Linked DNA regions of Homo sapiens: all the other regions are linked to region 4. The links are contacts of gene promoters, found by promoter capture Hi-C in blood cells and fetal thymus (Javierre and others, 2016). All regions are on one chromosome and are shown on one strand. Each heading gives the region's core, a stretch centred on a gene start or on the middle of the fragment in contact. The rest is flanking DNA. Distances are from core to core; before and after follow the strand shown.

Region 1 (2,815 bases), core at 102-2,601, 210 kb before region 4:
TCATTAATAGATTCATGAATTATTATCTTTATTTATAAACTAAGATAGTAGAAGTCCAAGTTTTATGACTGTAATTTCAAGATTCCTCCTATTCTGTAAAAGTACATGCAGAAAAACTATGATCCTGGTATGTCATTTTATTCCTCCTTTAGAACAAACTTAATTATAAAAATAGTAGAGAAAAATAAAAGCATGGGCAACATGGTAAAACCTCATCTCTACAAACAATACAAAAAACTAGCCAAGCATGGTGGCACGTGCCTGTGGTCCCAGCTACTTGGGAGGCTGAGAGGTAAAAGGACTGCTTGAGCCTGGAAGGTCAGGCTACAGTGAGCTGTGACTGCATCACTGCATACCAGGCTGGGCAACAGAGCAAGACTCAAAAAAGAAACGAAAAAAGAAATAAAAAAAAGAATTCAGTATCATCTTGAAGACAGACTTGATGAATTTTACCATCCATCTTCTTATTAAAATCAGAAAATTATACCATTTGGAGTTAAATTTTATACCTCGTTTTTTAGCCTCAGCCACCATCTCATCGTATTCTTGTCGGTGACGTAAAGCTTCTTCCACAGATTTGGCAGGAAGATTTCTGGAAAAAAAAATTACTTAAGTCAAGACAATTTTTAAAAGATTAACTTTCAACTTACTAACTTATTTGTTTTTACACCCAGATGCAAAGAATTTCTAAACTAACCTCATTTCATACATTAAGGAAGTGAAAGGCTGAAAAGAACTGTGCATTTTAGAACAGAATCAGAATCCAGGTTGTTAATATGTGGTGTGTGTGTGTGTGTGTGTGTGTAGTTCTATGTCATGTGTATATAAGTTGGTATATATTTAAACATTTCAGATTAAAAAAATAGAGATGGGGTCTCACTATGTTGCTCAGGCTAGTCTCAAACTCCTGGGTTGAAGCAATCCTCCTGACTCAGCCTCCCAAAGTGCTGGGATTACAGGTGTGAGCCACTGAGCCCAGTCCATTTCAGATTTCAGTCAATATTTTTAGGTTATTTGTTAAACTCACTTACTAGAGTTTTCTTTAGTCAACTTTTTTCAGATATAATTTTCATATAATAAAATGAATAAACATATTTTAAGAATAGTTTGATGAGTCTTGACAAATGTATATACCTGTGCAGCTAACTAACCAATCAAGATATAGAACATTCCCATCATTCCACTAAGTTTCCTTGTGGTACCCCTCACAAAATTCTTTCTTTGATTTCTATCACTACAGATTAATTTGTTTCCTCTTCAAGAATTTTATAGACTCTTGTGTCTGGCTTTTTTTGTTTTAATTTACATTGAAGGACTAATGTCTGGCTTCTTTTGCTCAGCACAGTTTTGAAAATCATTCATGTTGTTGTATTAGTAATGTATTCCTTTTAATTGCTGAGTAGTATTCCATTTATCCATGTGGGTGGACACTTGGATTGTTTCCAGATTGAGGCCATTATTAATAAAACTACTGTAAAAATTAACATCAAGTTTTTGTGTAGACATTTGCTTTCATTTCCCTTAGTTAAACAAAAGTCTTGGGTTATATAGTAAGTGTGGATATACCTTTACAATAAACTGTCAAACTGCTTTCCACTAATTAGAGTTTTAAGACAACATTTTAACTAAAAAACTGGATCATCCATCATTTGCATACATAGTAGTCCCCCCTTATCCTTAGGAGTTATGTTCCAAGACCTCCAGTGGATGCCTGAAACCTCAGACAGTAACAAACCCTATATATACCAGGTTTTTTCCTATACATACATAACTATGATAAAGTTTAATTTAATTGAGATTAAGTTAACCCAGCACAATATGTTGCCATCAATTGGAACACATTTTTGTTCATATCTTCCACCCATAAATTTAATGTCTTTTCAATCATAACTGAACACCGTGCTCTATGGTAGTAACTTTTGCAATTTAAGGTGCAACAGTAACACTAGCATAAATTTCTTTTTCATTCTTCACAATTTCATGGATAGGAAACTGATTCTTACCACAGATCTTAGCAACTTCAGCATATGATTTTTTTTTCTTATTAATTTGAGAACTTTCACCTTTTTGCTTAAAGGAGGAACTTTACAGCTTCTCTTTGGCATATCTGAATTGTCAGCACCACTACTCTTAAGCTTTGGGGGCATTACTAATAAAATAAGGGTTCTTTGAACACAGGCGCTGTGGTATCACCAACAGTCGATCTGACAACCAAGAAGGTTACTAACTGAACTACCAGATGGGTAGTGTATATAGTGCAGATAAACTGAACTCATGTCCCTAGCAGGATGGAGCAGGACAGTGAGATTTCATCATGCTACTCAGAATGGCACGCAATTTAAAAATTAAAAGTTATTTCTGGAATTTTCCACTTAATGTTTTCAAACCACAGCTGAGTACAGGTAACTGAAATTGCCTTAAGCAAAACCGCCAATAAGGGGTAACTACTACACCGTATTTTGGTTTATCAAATCAATGGCTTCACAGAGTCAGTGATTTAGATATAAAAAATGCAAAAAGAAATACACTGGTATATTATCACTTATCCAAATATAATCATAATAGTGTCCAGTTTTAGGAGTCAGTCTTTTCTTTTCAACAGGCTAGTGTGGAAAAAGGTATGTGACAAATTTTCAAATTATAAATTCTACCTCCTCTTCTCAAATTAGTCAGTTGATCTGGTAGGTTGTAGGAGGGAGGAATAAAAGTTAAGACCTCTGCTTCAGGCCATAATGGAATAAAAGAAACCAGGTTTACCCTTTCCCCTTAAATCATTAGAAAATGGACAAAATATATTAAACTATAGTTTCCAGAC
Region 2 (3,060 bases), core at 432-2,931, 140 kb before region 4:
CTTCAAATTGTTTTCTTTCTTCATTCTGTGATACATCTTGTTAGCACATAACAGGGAATGGTAGTGTTAATCCATCTTTCCCCCTTTAAATTCATCCTCCACCCCAATCAACACTATATAAATACCATGTTCATGTACACGCCCATCTATACACACACAGACACAAACACACCATCTTCCATTCTCTCTACTAATTTGTGTCCAATCTTTTTAGCAAAAAGGAGTTGAGCAATAAGTTGCCCCAGTTAGGAAATAGCATCAACTGAGAAATAGCAGTCTAATGGTTTCTTCATTGTTGAAAACATATAGTTGAAAAAGAAAAGAGGCACACTAAGAAAAGGCTAATGTGGGGATTAGAAGAGAAAAGAGGGGAAAAGGCCTACTAATACAACCATTTCCCTGCCTTCTCCCTTAGTGGCTTTTATAATACAGGTTGGGTAAATGACTCTAGCTTATTAATACATGTTAACATTTGCTTCACATATCTGTGTGCTTGTATTCTCCTAAAATTTCTTCATTTCTTTTATCACACACAAAAAAAGCTACATAGGACCTAAGAGTCAGACCATTTGCCTACCATACCTTATCAAAGGCTAAAGCTCACTAAAAAGGGGCAAAATTTATTGATATCATGCAAATTCTCCACTAATGCTTTTTTAAATAACAGAATGTAGAGTGCTTGGATCTTTAAGAATTGGCAAACCCACTTACGTATCTGAGATAAAGGAATGTAAATCCCATAGTTTCTCAAACTGTGGAATTTGACACTATAGAAAATTGTGACTACCTAATCCTGAATCTTCTTACTGCCAACAGTAATGTGAGCTCCAGCCCTCCAAAAAGTAATTAATTTTGCTTAACATTTACATCAATTTGACTATTTTAACCTTTTAGACTCATTGGATAAATTCTAATAATCATTTCAATAGACTTGTATATTAAAAGGGGATTCAACACTGGGCACACACATGTAGTCTTGGCTACTCAGGCGGCTGAAGGAGGACTGCTTGAGCCCTGGAGTTCGAGGCCAGACTGGACAACATAGCAAGACACCATCTATTTTTTTAGAAATTGGGGTGGGGGGATAGAATACTTTTCGGCTGGGTGCGGTGACTCACACCTGTAATACCAGCACTTTGAGAGGCCAAGGCAGGTGGGTATCTTGCGTCCAAGAGTTCGAGACCGGCCTGGGCAACATGGCAAAACCCCATCTCTACAAACAAAATGCAAAAATTAGGCAGGCGTGGTGGCACGCACCTGAAGCCCCAGCTACTTGGCAGGCTGAAGCGGGAGGATCACTTGAGCCCAGGAGGTCAAGGCTGCAGTAACACAAGATCGTACCACTGCACTCTAGCCTGAGTGACAGAGCAAGAACCTGTCTCAAAAAAAAAAGTGGAGGGGATAGAATCAATTGAAAGAGTAAAATCAGTTTTAAAAATTAGAAATCATAACAGAGGGGAAGTTGGATGGCTGAAAACATAAAAACTTCCTGGACTTTAATTTCCCCAAAGAATAAAAAGCCATAAAGAAAACATTATCTAGTGACCATGGAATGCCACAGCTGACTACATAATTAATTCAAAGAAGTATAACTACTGTCTCTAAACTCAGTACTTTGGTTACCCTTGAGTATTCTGGATTAAAGATCTGGCACAAAGATTACTAACATTCTTTACAAGCCTCAATCATTTTTCACTTGGAAAAAACTTTCAGCTGACTATATGCAAAAAAAGTAGGGTTTTTTGCCAGATAACTTAGGCTTTTTTAATTCCAAGAATTTTCTTTTTCAAGCTGTTTTTGGATCTTGTCTTTGTTATTACAAATCCTAAAAATTAAAAAAAAAGTAGAGAATTTTTATTCAATAAACATTACTTAACTAACCAGATATTTTCTGAGATCAGAGCTATCAAAAAGGGAAATTCAACATCACCCACTCTGTCAAAACAAGAGAAATTACAAGGCTGAAAGGCTACAATTTTTCAAGTAATAAATAATATTTTAGAGCTTCTAGGGACCTTAGAAAATATCCGTAACATTGGAGAGTGTTCAGAGAAAAAGAAAATTAAAAATTAAATTAAAAAAAAAAAAGACTATCCAGGTCAGAGTTCTTTATTAAGAGTCAATCAACCTGCTGAGCATGATGACTCACGTCTGTAATGCCAGCACTTTGAGAGTCCAAGGCGGGAGGATCACTTGCATCTAGGAGTTCAAGACCAGTCTGGGCAACATAGCGAAACCCCGTCTCTACAAAAAAAAATCAGCCAGGCATGGTGGCATGCATCTGTAGTCCCAGCTACTCAGAAGGCTGAAGCGGGAGGATCACGTAAGCCTGCGAAGTCAAGGCTGTAGTGAGCCTGATGGCACCACTGCACTCCAGCCTGGGCAACAGTGAGATTTTTGTCTCAAAAAAAAGTCAATGAACCTACACAAATGGGCCACAGGTTGTCTACAAGCATTCTCAAATTGTGTGCACAATCCAGTAATGAGGTCAGGTAAGAAAAAAATATTGTCTGCACAATTTTAAGTAAATGATGTACTTACAGGCCAGGCATGGTGGCTTACACCTGTAATTCCAGCACTTTGGGAGGCTGAATGAAGCAGGTGGATCACTTGACCTCAGGAACTGGAGATTACCCTGTCTAACATGGCAAAACCCCATTTCCACAAAAAGTATAAAAATTAGCCAGGCATGGTGGCATGCGTCTATAGTCCCAGTTACTCGAGAGGTTGAGGTGGGAGGCTCACTTGAGCCCAGGAGGTTGAGGATGCAGCAAGCTGTGATTGTGCCACTGCACTCCAGCCTGGGAAACACAGTGAGACCCTGTCTTAAAAAAAAAAAAAAAAAAAAAAAGAAGTTCCAAACATTTCTCTTGGCCAGCTTTCATCAAATTCTCCTAGGATTCAATACACCAACCTACCACTTCCAAGACAGACTGATGACCCCACAGAGTCTTTGCCAAGGTCACACTACTAAGTGTTTGAAACAGGTCTCTCTTGCATAGTTGCTTTTCTTTTTAATCACATTCATATTGTTCATGTCCTCCATACAACAATCAAGAT
Region 3 (2,700 bases), core at 27-2,526, 180 kb before region 4:
CAGAAGTTAAGCTTCTTGTGCATCAGTTTGACTCCTTTATGGCTTATTTATAAACTTTTTTAGTTCACATCTAACGTAATTTTTTCTTTGGAGCTAATTTATCCCATAACTAAGAAATTATCAATGAACTTACTTTCTTCTGCAATGTTTAATCTGTGATTAATGTCACCCAGTAAAATATTCACGTCAGATCTTGCATATTAACAACTGTAGCACTGTTATCAATCAACTTGAGAACAGAGCAACAGAAACTATCCAAAATTAAGCAAAGAAAGGGAAAAAAATTGAAGAAATATAAGCAGAGCTTTAGGGAACACTATGAAGCAGCCTAAATTATGTGTAATTGGAGTGTTGGTACGAGGGAGAACAATATTTAAGACAATAATGGCTGAAATGTTGTCAAACTACACCCACAGACCCAAGAAGTTCAATAAATTCTAAGCAGAATACAGATAAAACCACACCAAAAGACATCATAATTATTTGCTAAAATATAATGGTAAGAAGAATATTTTAAAAGCAGCCAGAAAAAAAGCACTTATATTGAAAAGACTGAATGTGAAAACAATTACAAGACTTTTCCCCTAAAATTATTCCAGTCAAAAGACAATAGAAAAATCTTTAAACTGCTGAAGGAAAAAAAAATGGAGAGGGAACATCTATTAACTTAGAATCCTATACCAGAGGAAATATCTTTCATAAGTGAAAGCAAAATAAAATTATTTTCAGACAAGCAATAGCTAAGAGAATTTGTTGTCAGTAGACCAGCAATATAATTTCAAGGACATTATTCAGGCAGAAAGTATGTATCACATGAAAACATGAATATACACAAAGAGATAAAAAGCACCAAAAATAATAAATATAGACAAAAAGACAGTTTTCTCATTTCTTAAAGTTAGAGAATATTTGGTCATTTAATACAGAAATATACTGGTAAATGTAAATAAGCAGTTTACAGCACAAAAGTTAGAAAGGAGGTAACAGCAGTACACTGTTGTAAGGTTCTTCCATTATACTCAAGTGCTATAAAGTTATTTGAAGGTAGACCATGATAAATTAAATATCATAAAAGCCCTAGTGTTGCAGTTTCTCGATGTGTAATTAGAAGACCTAAGTGTTCAGGACATGCTTTCATGGGGTCTGCAAAGTCAGAGCTATATTCCTAAGAGTGTTAATAGTTTGTCACTGCATTGACATTTGTACTAATGGTGCTCAGCAATGCTGAATAAAACTGTAGGTAGCCTGGACAATATAGTGAGACATTGTCTCTACAAAAAATAAAAACATTAGCCAAGTATGGTTGTACGCGCATGAGAGTGGGGAGCTATGAGCTCACTGCTGCACCCCAACCTGGGCAATAGAGACCCTGTCTCAAAAACAAAAACTGTCAGTGCCCTATCACAAATCAAAGCAATAGCACTGTGATGACTGTATTATTCAGGACATGCATTGAAGGTTTAAAAAAAAGAGGGGGAGTGGCCAGATTCATTTAAGTATGTCTATGACAAAACAGTAAAAATTATTAATTGTATTAAATATTTATATATGAGTAAACATCTTAACATTCTGCGTGACAAAAGGAAAAGTACAGGGCCGGGCACAGTGGCTCATGCCTGTAATCCCAGCACTTTGGGAGGCCAAGGCGGGCGGCTCACCTGAGGTCGGAAGTTCGAGACCAGCCTGACCAAATGGAGAAACTCCATCTCTACTAAAAATACAAAAATTAGCCGGGCGTGGTGGTGCATGCCTGTAATCCCAGCTACTCGGGAGGCTGAGGCAGGAGAATCGCTTGAACCCAGGAGGCAAAGGTTGCAGTGAGCTGAGATAGCGCCACCGCACTCCAGCCTGGGCAACAACAGCGAAACTCTGTCTTAAAAAACAAAAACAAAAACAAAAAAAAACTCGACTACACACTTGTGCAAAGGAAAAGCACTTGTGCAATTATTTGAGTTCTAAACTGAACAAATGTCTTTTTCAAGAACACTATTTTTATTTAAAAGAAAAACTGACTGCAAACTGCAGTGGCAGTCATTTTCTAAAAATTAGACAAAGCGGGCCCTTTATCTCCATGATATTTCTCCCAGAAAACCATAAACCCACTCAAGTCATAAGGAAATCATGAGAGAAACCTAAATTGAAGACCATTCTAGAAAATAATAGACCAGTACTCTTCAAAAGTGTCAAGTTCATTAAAAAAAGGAAAGATGACAAACTGTCAAAGGCCATAGAGACTAAGGAATTGTGATAGCAAAATATAATGTGATATTCCGGATTAGACACTGAAAGAGAAATAGGACTTTAATAGAAAAATTGGTGAAATCCAAGTGAAGTCTGGAGTTTAATTAATAGTAATCTACCAAAGTCAATTTTCTGAGTTTTGACAAATGTACAGGGTAATAGATGCTAACATTAGAAGAAACTGAATGAGAGGTATTTATGAATTCTCTGTATTGTTTTTTCAGTATCACAATAATAAAGTTATTCCAAAATCTAAAGTTATTCTGTAAATCTAAAGTTATTCCAAAATAAAAAGCTTATTAAAACAAACAAAAAAGGATGAAGTGTGCCAGTGATTTTAAGGAAAGCAATTGAAAGTAAGTGTTGCTAATAATAAAATCCAGCCTTTCAGTAAGAATTAAAATGCTGTGAACTTGTAAATGCCACTATATATATGTGTGTATGTATATACATATATAC
Region 4 (2,858 bases), core at 26-2,525:
TCTTGTCACCACTGAATAATTTTTGTCTTACAGGGTTGTAATCTTTTAAGCTATGGGTATGTCAAGGCATACAGAGCAGCGTAATGGACATTGGAGACTCAGAATGAGAGTGGGAGGGAGGTGAGGGATGAAAAACTACCTGGTGGGTATGACTTACACGACTTGGGTGACAGGTGCGCTAAAATCCCAGACTTCATCACTATACAATTCATCCATGTAACCAAAAACTACTTGTACCACTAAAGCTGTCAAAATAAAAAAATTCAAAATAAAAGAACAAGGTTGCACTCCTAACTGTGGAACAACTGGGTATCTAGGAGGTACCCAAACATATGCCTATAAATGAAGGAGCTCCAGAAAGGAGATGTCACAATGAGTTGAAGAGTCTCAGATACTTTCCAAGGACCCCGTCCTTGGAATTTGGAATGGGGCCAAGGGGAGAAGGAAGGCCAGGCAAGGTTGAGAACACTCTGAGCAATGGCCTGGCACTAGAAAGACGGCAGTGTATGTAGGTGCCTGAGGAGAGTGGGGGATGCAGGGGAGCTTGTGGGAAGATATTGGAAACTAGGTTGATGGGGTCATAAAATAAAAATACCATATCCTTTTTTTTTTCTATTAGAAGGAGAAAAAAACCCAGGACAATAGAAGTACTAAATGCAACCGAGAAATAAACCCTAAGAGAAAGCAGGTCGAAAAAATTCAACTACTTCCATAGTGTGGTGCAAAGAGCCCACCCCTGGGAGCTGACAGGAATTCTGGCTCTTGCCCTGCCACTGACCTAGCTTCTGATGGTGGGGAAGTTCCTTCCTTTCTGTGGGCCTCATACCACATGATTGTTGAGTGCCTCATTGCAATGAAGGGTTTTTTTTTTTTTTTTGCATATGGCTTGTAAGAAGGGACTTGGGATGATGAAAGGTGACATACACTGAAATTGATAATGTAGCAAAATTAAAATAAACGGCATAGCAAAATGAACAGTTTATAGTATTTTCCTCATGTGCATCAAACAAATGATTGTAAAAAGAAATATTTAGAAGGTATTATAACAATCATTCTGGCAATCCAATTTAGCTATTTTGAGACAGGAAATAAAATCAGGGAAAAAATGTAAGAAATTTCATTTTTCTAAAGAGAAAATACACTATACCTATGAAGAAATGTATGCTATGTGAACACTTTTAAAAAACAACATACTTGGAATTTTTAAAATAAGCCGAACAACCACATGCTTAGAAGCTCTATCACATGACCTCCTGATCTTCCACGATTCTCTACTGGTACAGAGACTTTATCTTTCACACAGACTTCAAATATCTTTGGGAATTTGTGCTCCTTATTTACTGAGTGCTTGAGAAGAAAAGACAAAGCCAGTGGAATGGTCCGAGTGTGGCATCCGCTGCATTTATAAAGAATAAGAGCTGCAGTGGGTGTGATTCTTGGACAGAGTGGCGCTCATCCTTGTTCCTGCAATGAAGGACATGCCAGCCTCCAGGCTCTTTGACAGGTAAAGGGTTTTACTCCATCAGAAAAAGAGTTTTGCCAGTTGCAAATAATGGTCATATTGTACTTATATGCCATGAGGTCATGGTCTGTGAAATTAAACTTAAATGGCCAGGTTCCTGCATTTCTCTGAAATCTTTGCTGGCTACTTATTGATTCATATCCTCCTCAACAGGATTTGCTAGCAGACAAGCAGTAGCAGCTGCCAAAAGTTTAAAAACAGCTTATAGGAGAAAACTTACAATTAAAATGATTTTAATATCATGAAATATATGATTTTTATCATATCATTAAATAATATGATTTTTTTTACTCTGATGTGTGAAAAGCTCACTATTACCTAACTGTGATTTTAAAAATTTAATTATTATTTTTTAGAGATGAGGTCTTGCTATATATCTTGCCCAGGCTGGGCTTGAACTCCTAGACTCAAGCATTTCTCCTGCTCAGCCTCCCTGGTAGCTGGGATTACAGGCACGCACCACTACACCCAGTTTGCCTAATTTTTAAATAGCCCAATGCCTCTGGCCCATTTGTCAGGCACTGTGTGAGACCAGGTGCTTAAGATATGCTCTGGGAGGGACCTGAGTTCAGCCCATCTTGAAAAGATGAGGGCATTTTAGTGCCTCTCTCCAGGCCAAGTCTATAAATCCTGTTTACTAACATTTAGACTGATCCTCCTATCTCAGCCACTTTCCTGTTCTCAGAAATTATATTCAAGAGAATCCTTTTTCTTAGTATGAGGAGATGAATTTTTCTGAGTTCCATGTACTTAGGGACTTTCTTGTTTGTCTTCTACCCCCTGGTGCCCCATTTGTGGGACACATAATTGAGTACCTCATTGAAAACAGCCCGAAACAAGAGAGGCCAGGCAGTATAACGGGTAAGGGCAGGACTTTGGAGACAGACAGGCTTCAGAGCCATAGGTCTACCATTCATTAATTGAAAAGGACACTGTTTTTGGAAAGTGGTTCATCAGCCTGTCCACTGTACTTCTAAAAACGGTCAATTGGGGGAAATCTCTCCTTCCACTTCAACGCCATCCTTGGTCCTTGTGGTTTGGGTGGGGCCTTGCTACCCAGCTCAGAGTGGAGAATGTGACATGGGATCCAGACCATCAGAGCACTGCATCTCCTGGCCACAGTGATTGGTAAAGGACCCAATGAGAAACAATGACACTTCTGCGGGAAGTTCTGGAAGAGACTCTTACACTGAAGCTGAAACTGGAAGCATGTAGTGCTGGCCTGCTGTAGCCGTCTCGCAACCAGAAGGGAATAAAGGGGAGAAAGCCAACATGATGGAGGCGGAATGAGAAATGAGGAAAGAGAAAGCATGTACCTTGGTTAAGCTATACCTGA

The links. The method cuts DNA at HindIII sites, captures the fragments that hold promoters and counts their contacts. A CHiCAGO score of 5 or more calls a contact.
Region 1: a fragment that was not itself captured here is called in contact with the fragment with the promoter of PLCE1-AS1 in region 4 in 2 of 17 cell types (M2 macrophages and naive B cells); the score reaches 5.6 in M2 macrophages.
Region 2: a fragment that was not itself captured here is called in contact with the fragment with the promoter of PLCE1-AS1 in region 4 in 3 of 17 cell types (naive B cells, total B cells and monocytes); the score reaches 8.7 in naive B cells.
Region 3: a fragment that was not itself captured here is called in contact with the fragment with the promoter of PLCE1-AS1 in region 4 in 1 of 17 cell types (M2 macrophages); the score reaches 6.5 in M2 macrophages.

What each region holds. Positions count from the first base shown.
Region 1 is chr10:94,491,142-94,493,956 of GRCh38, reverse strand. TBC1D12 (TBC1 domain family member 12) reads right to left here. Exons shown (of 13, transcript NM_015188.2): 4 at 510-592. Among named protein-coding and RNA genes, the nearest start is that of HELLS, 53 kb to the left of the region's middle. The HindIII fragment of the contact is 1,572 bases long and covers 566-2,137 here.
Region 2 is chr10:94,428,074-94,431,133 of GRCh38, reverse strand. All of the region lies in intron 1 of TBC1D12 (TBC1 domain family member 12), which reads right to left. Among named protein-coding and RNA genes, the nearest start is that of TBC1D12, 27 kb to the right of the region's middle. The HindIII fragment of the contact is 9,366 bases long and covers 1-3,060 here.
Region 3 is chr10:94,466,426-94,469,125 of GRCh38, reverse strand. The region is part of intron 2 of TBC1D12 (TBC1 domain family member 12); the gene reads right to left. Among named protein-coding and RNA genes, the nearest start is that of TBC1D12, 65 kb to the right of the region's middle. The HindIII fragment of the contact is 2,525 bases long and covers 14-2,538 here.
Region 4 is chr10:94,285,487-94,288,344 of GRCh38, reverse strand. PLCE1-AS1 (PLCE1 antisense RNA 1) reads left to right here and starts at 1,275. Exons shown (of 4, transcript NR_033969.1): 1 at 1,275-1,504. All of the region lies in intron 22 of PLCE1 (phospholipase C epsilon 1), which reads right to left. The HindIII fragment of the contact is 4,167 bases long and covers 1-2,858 here.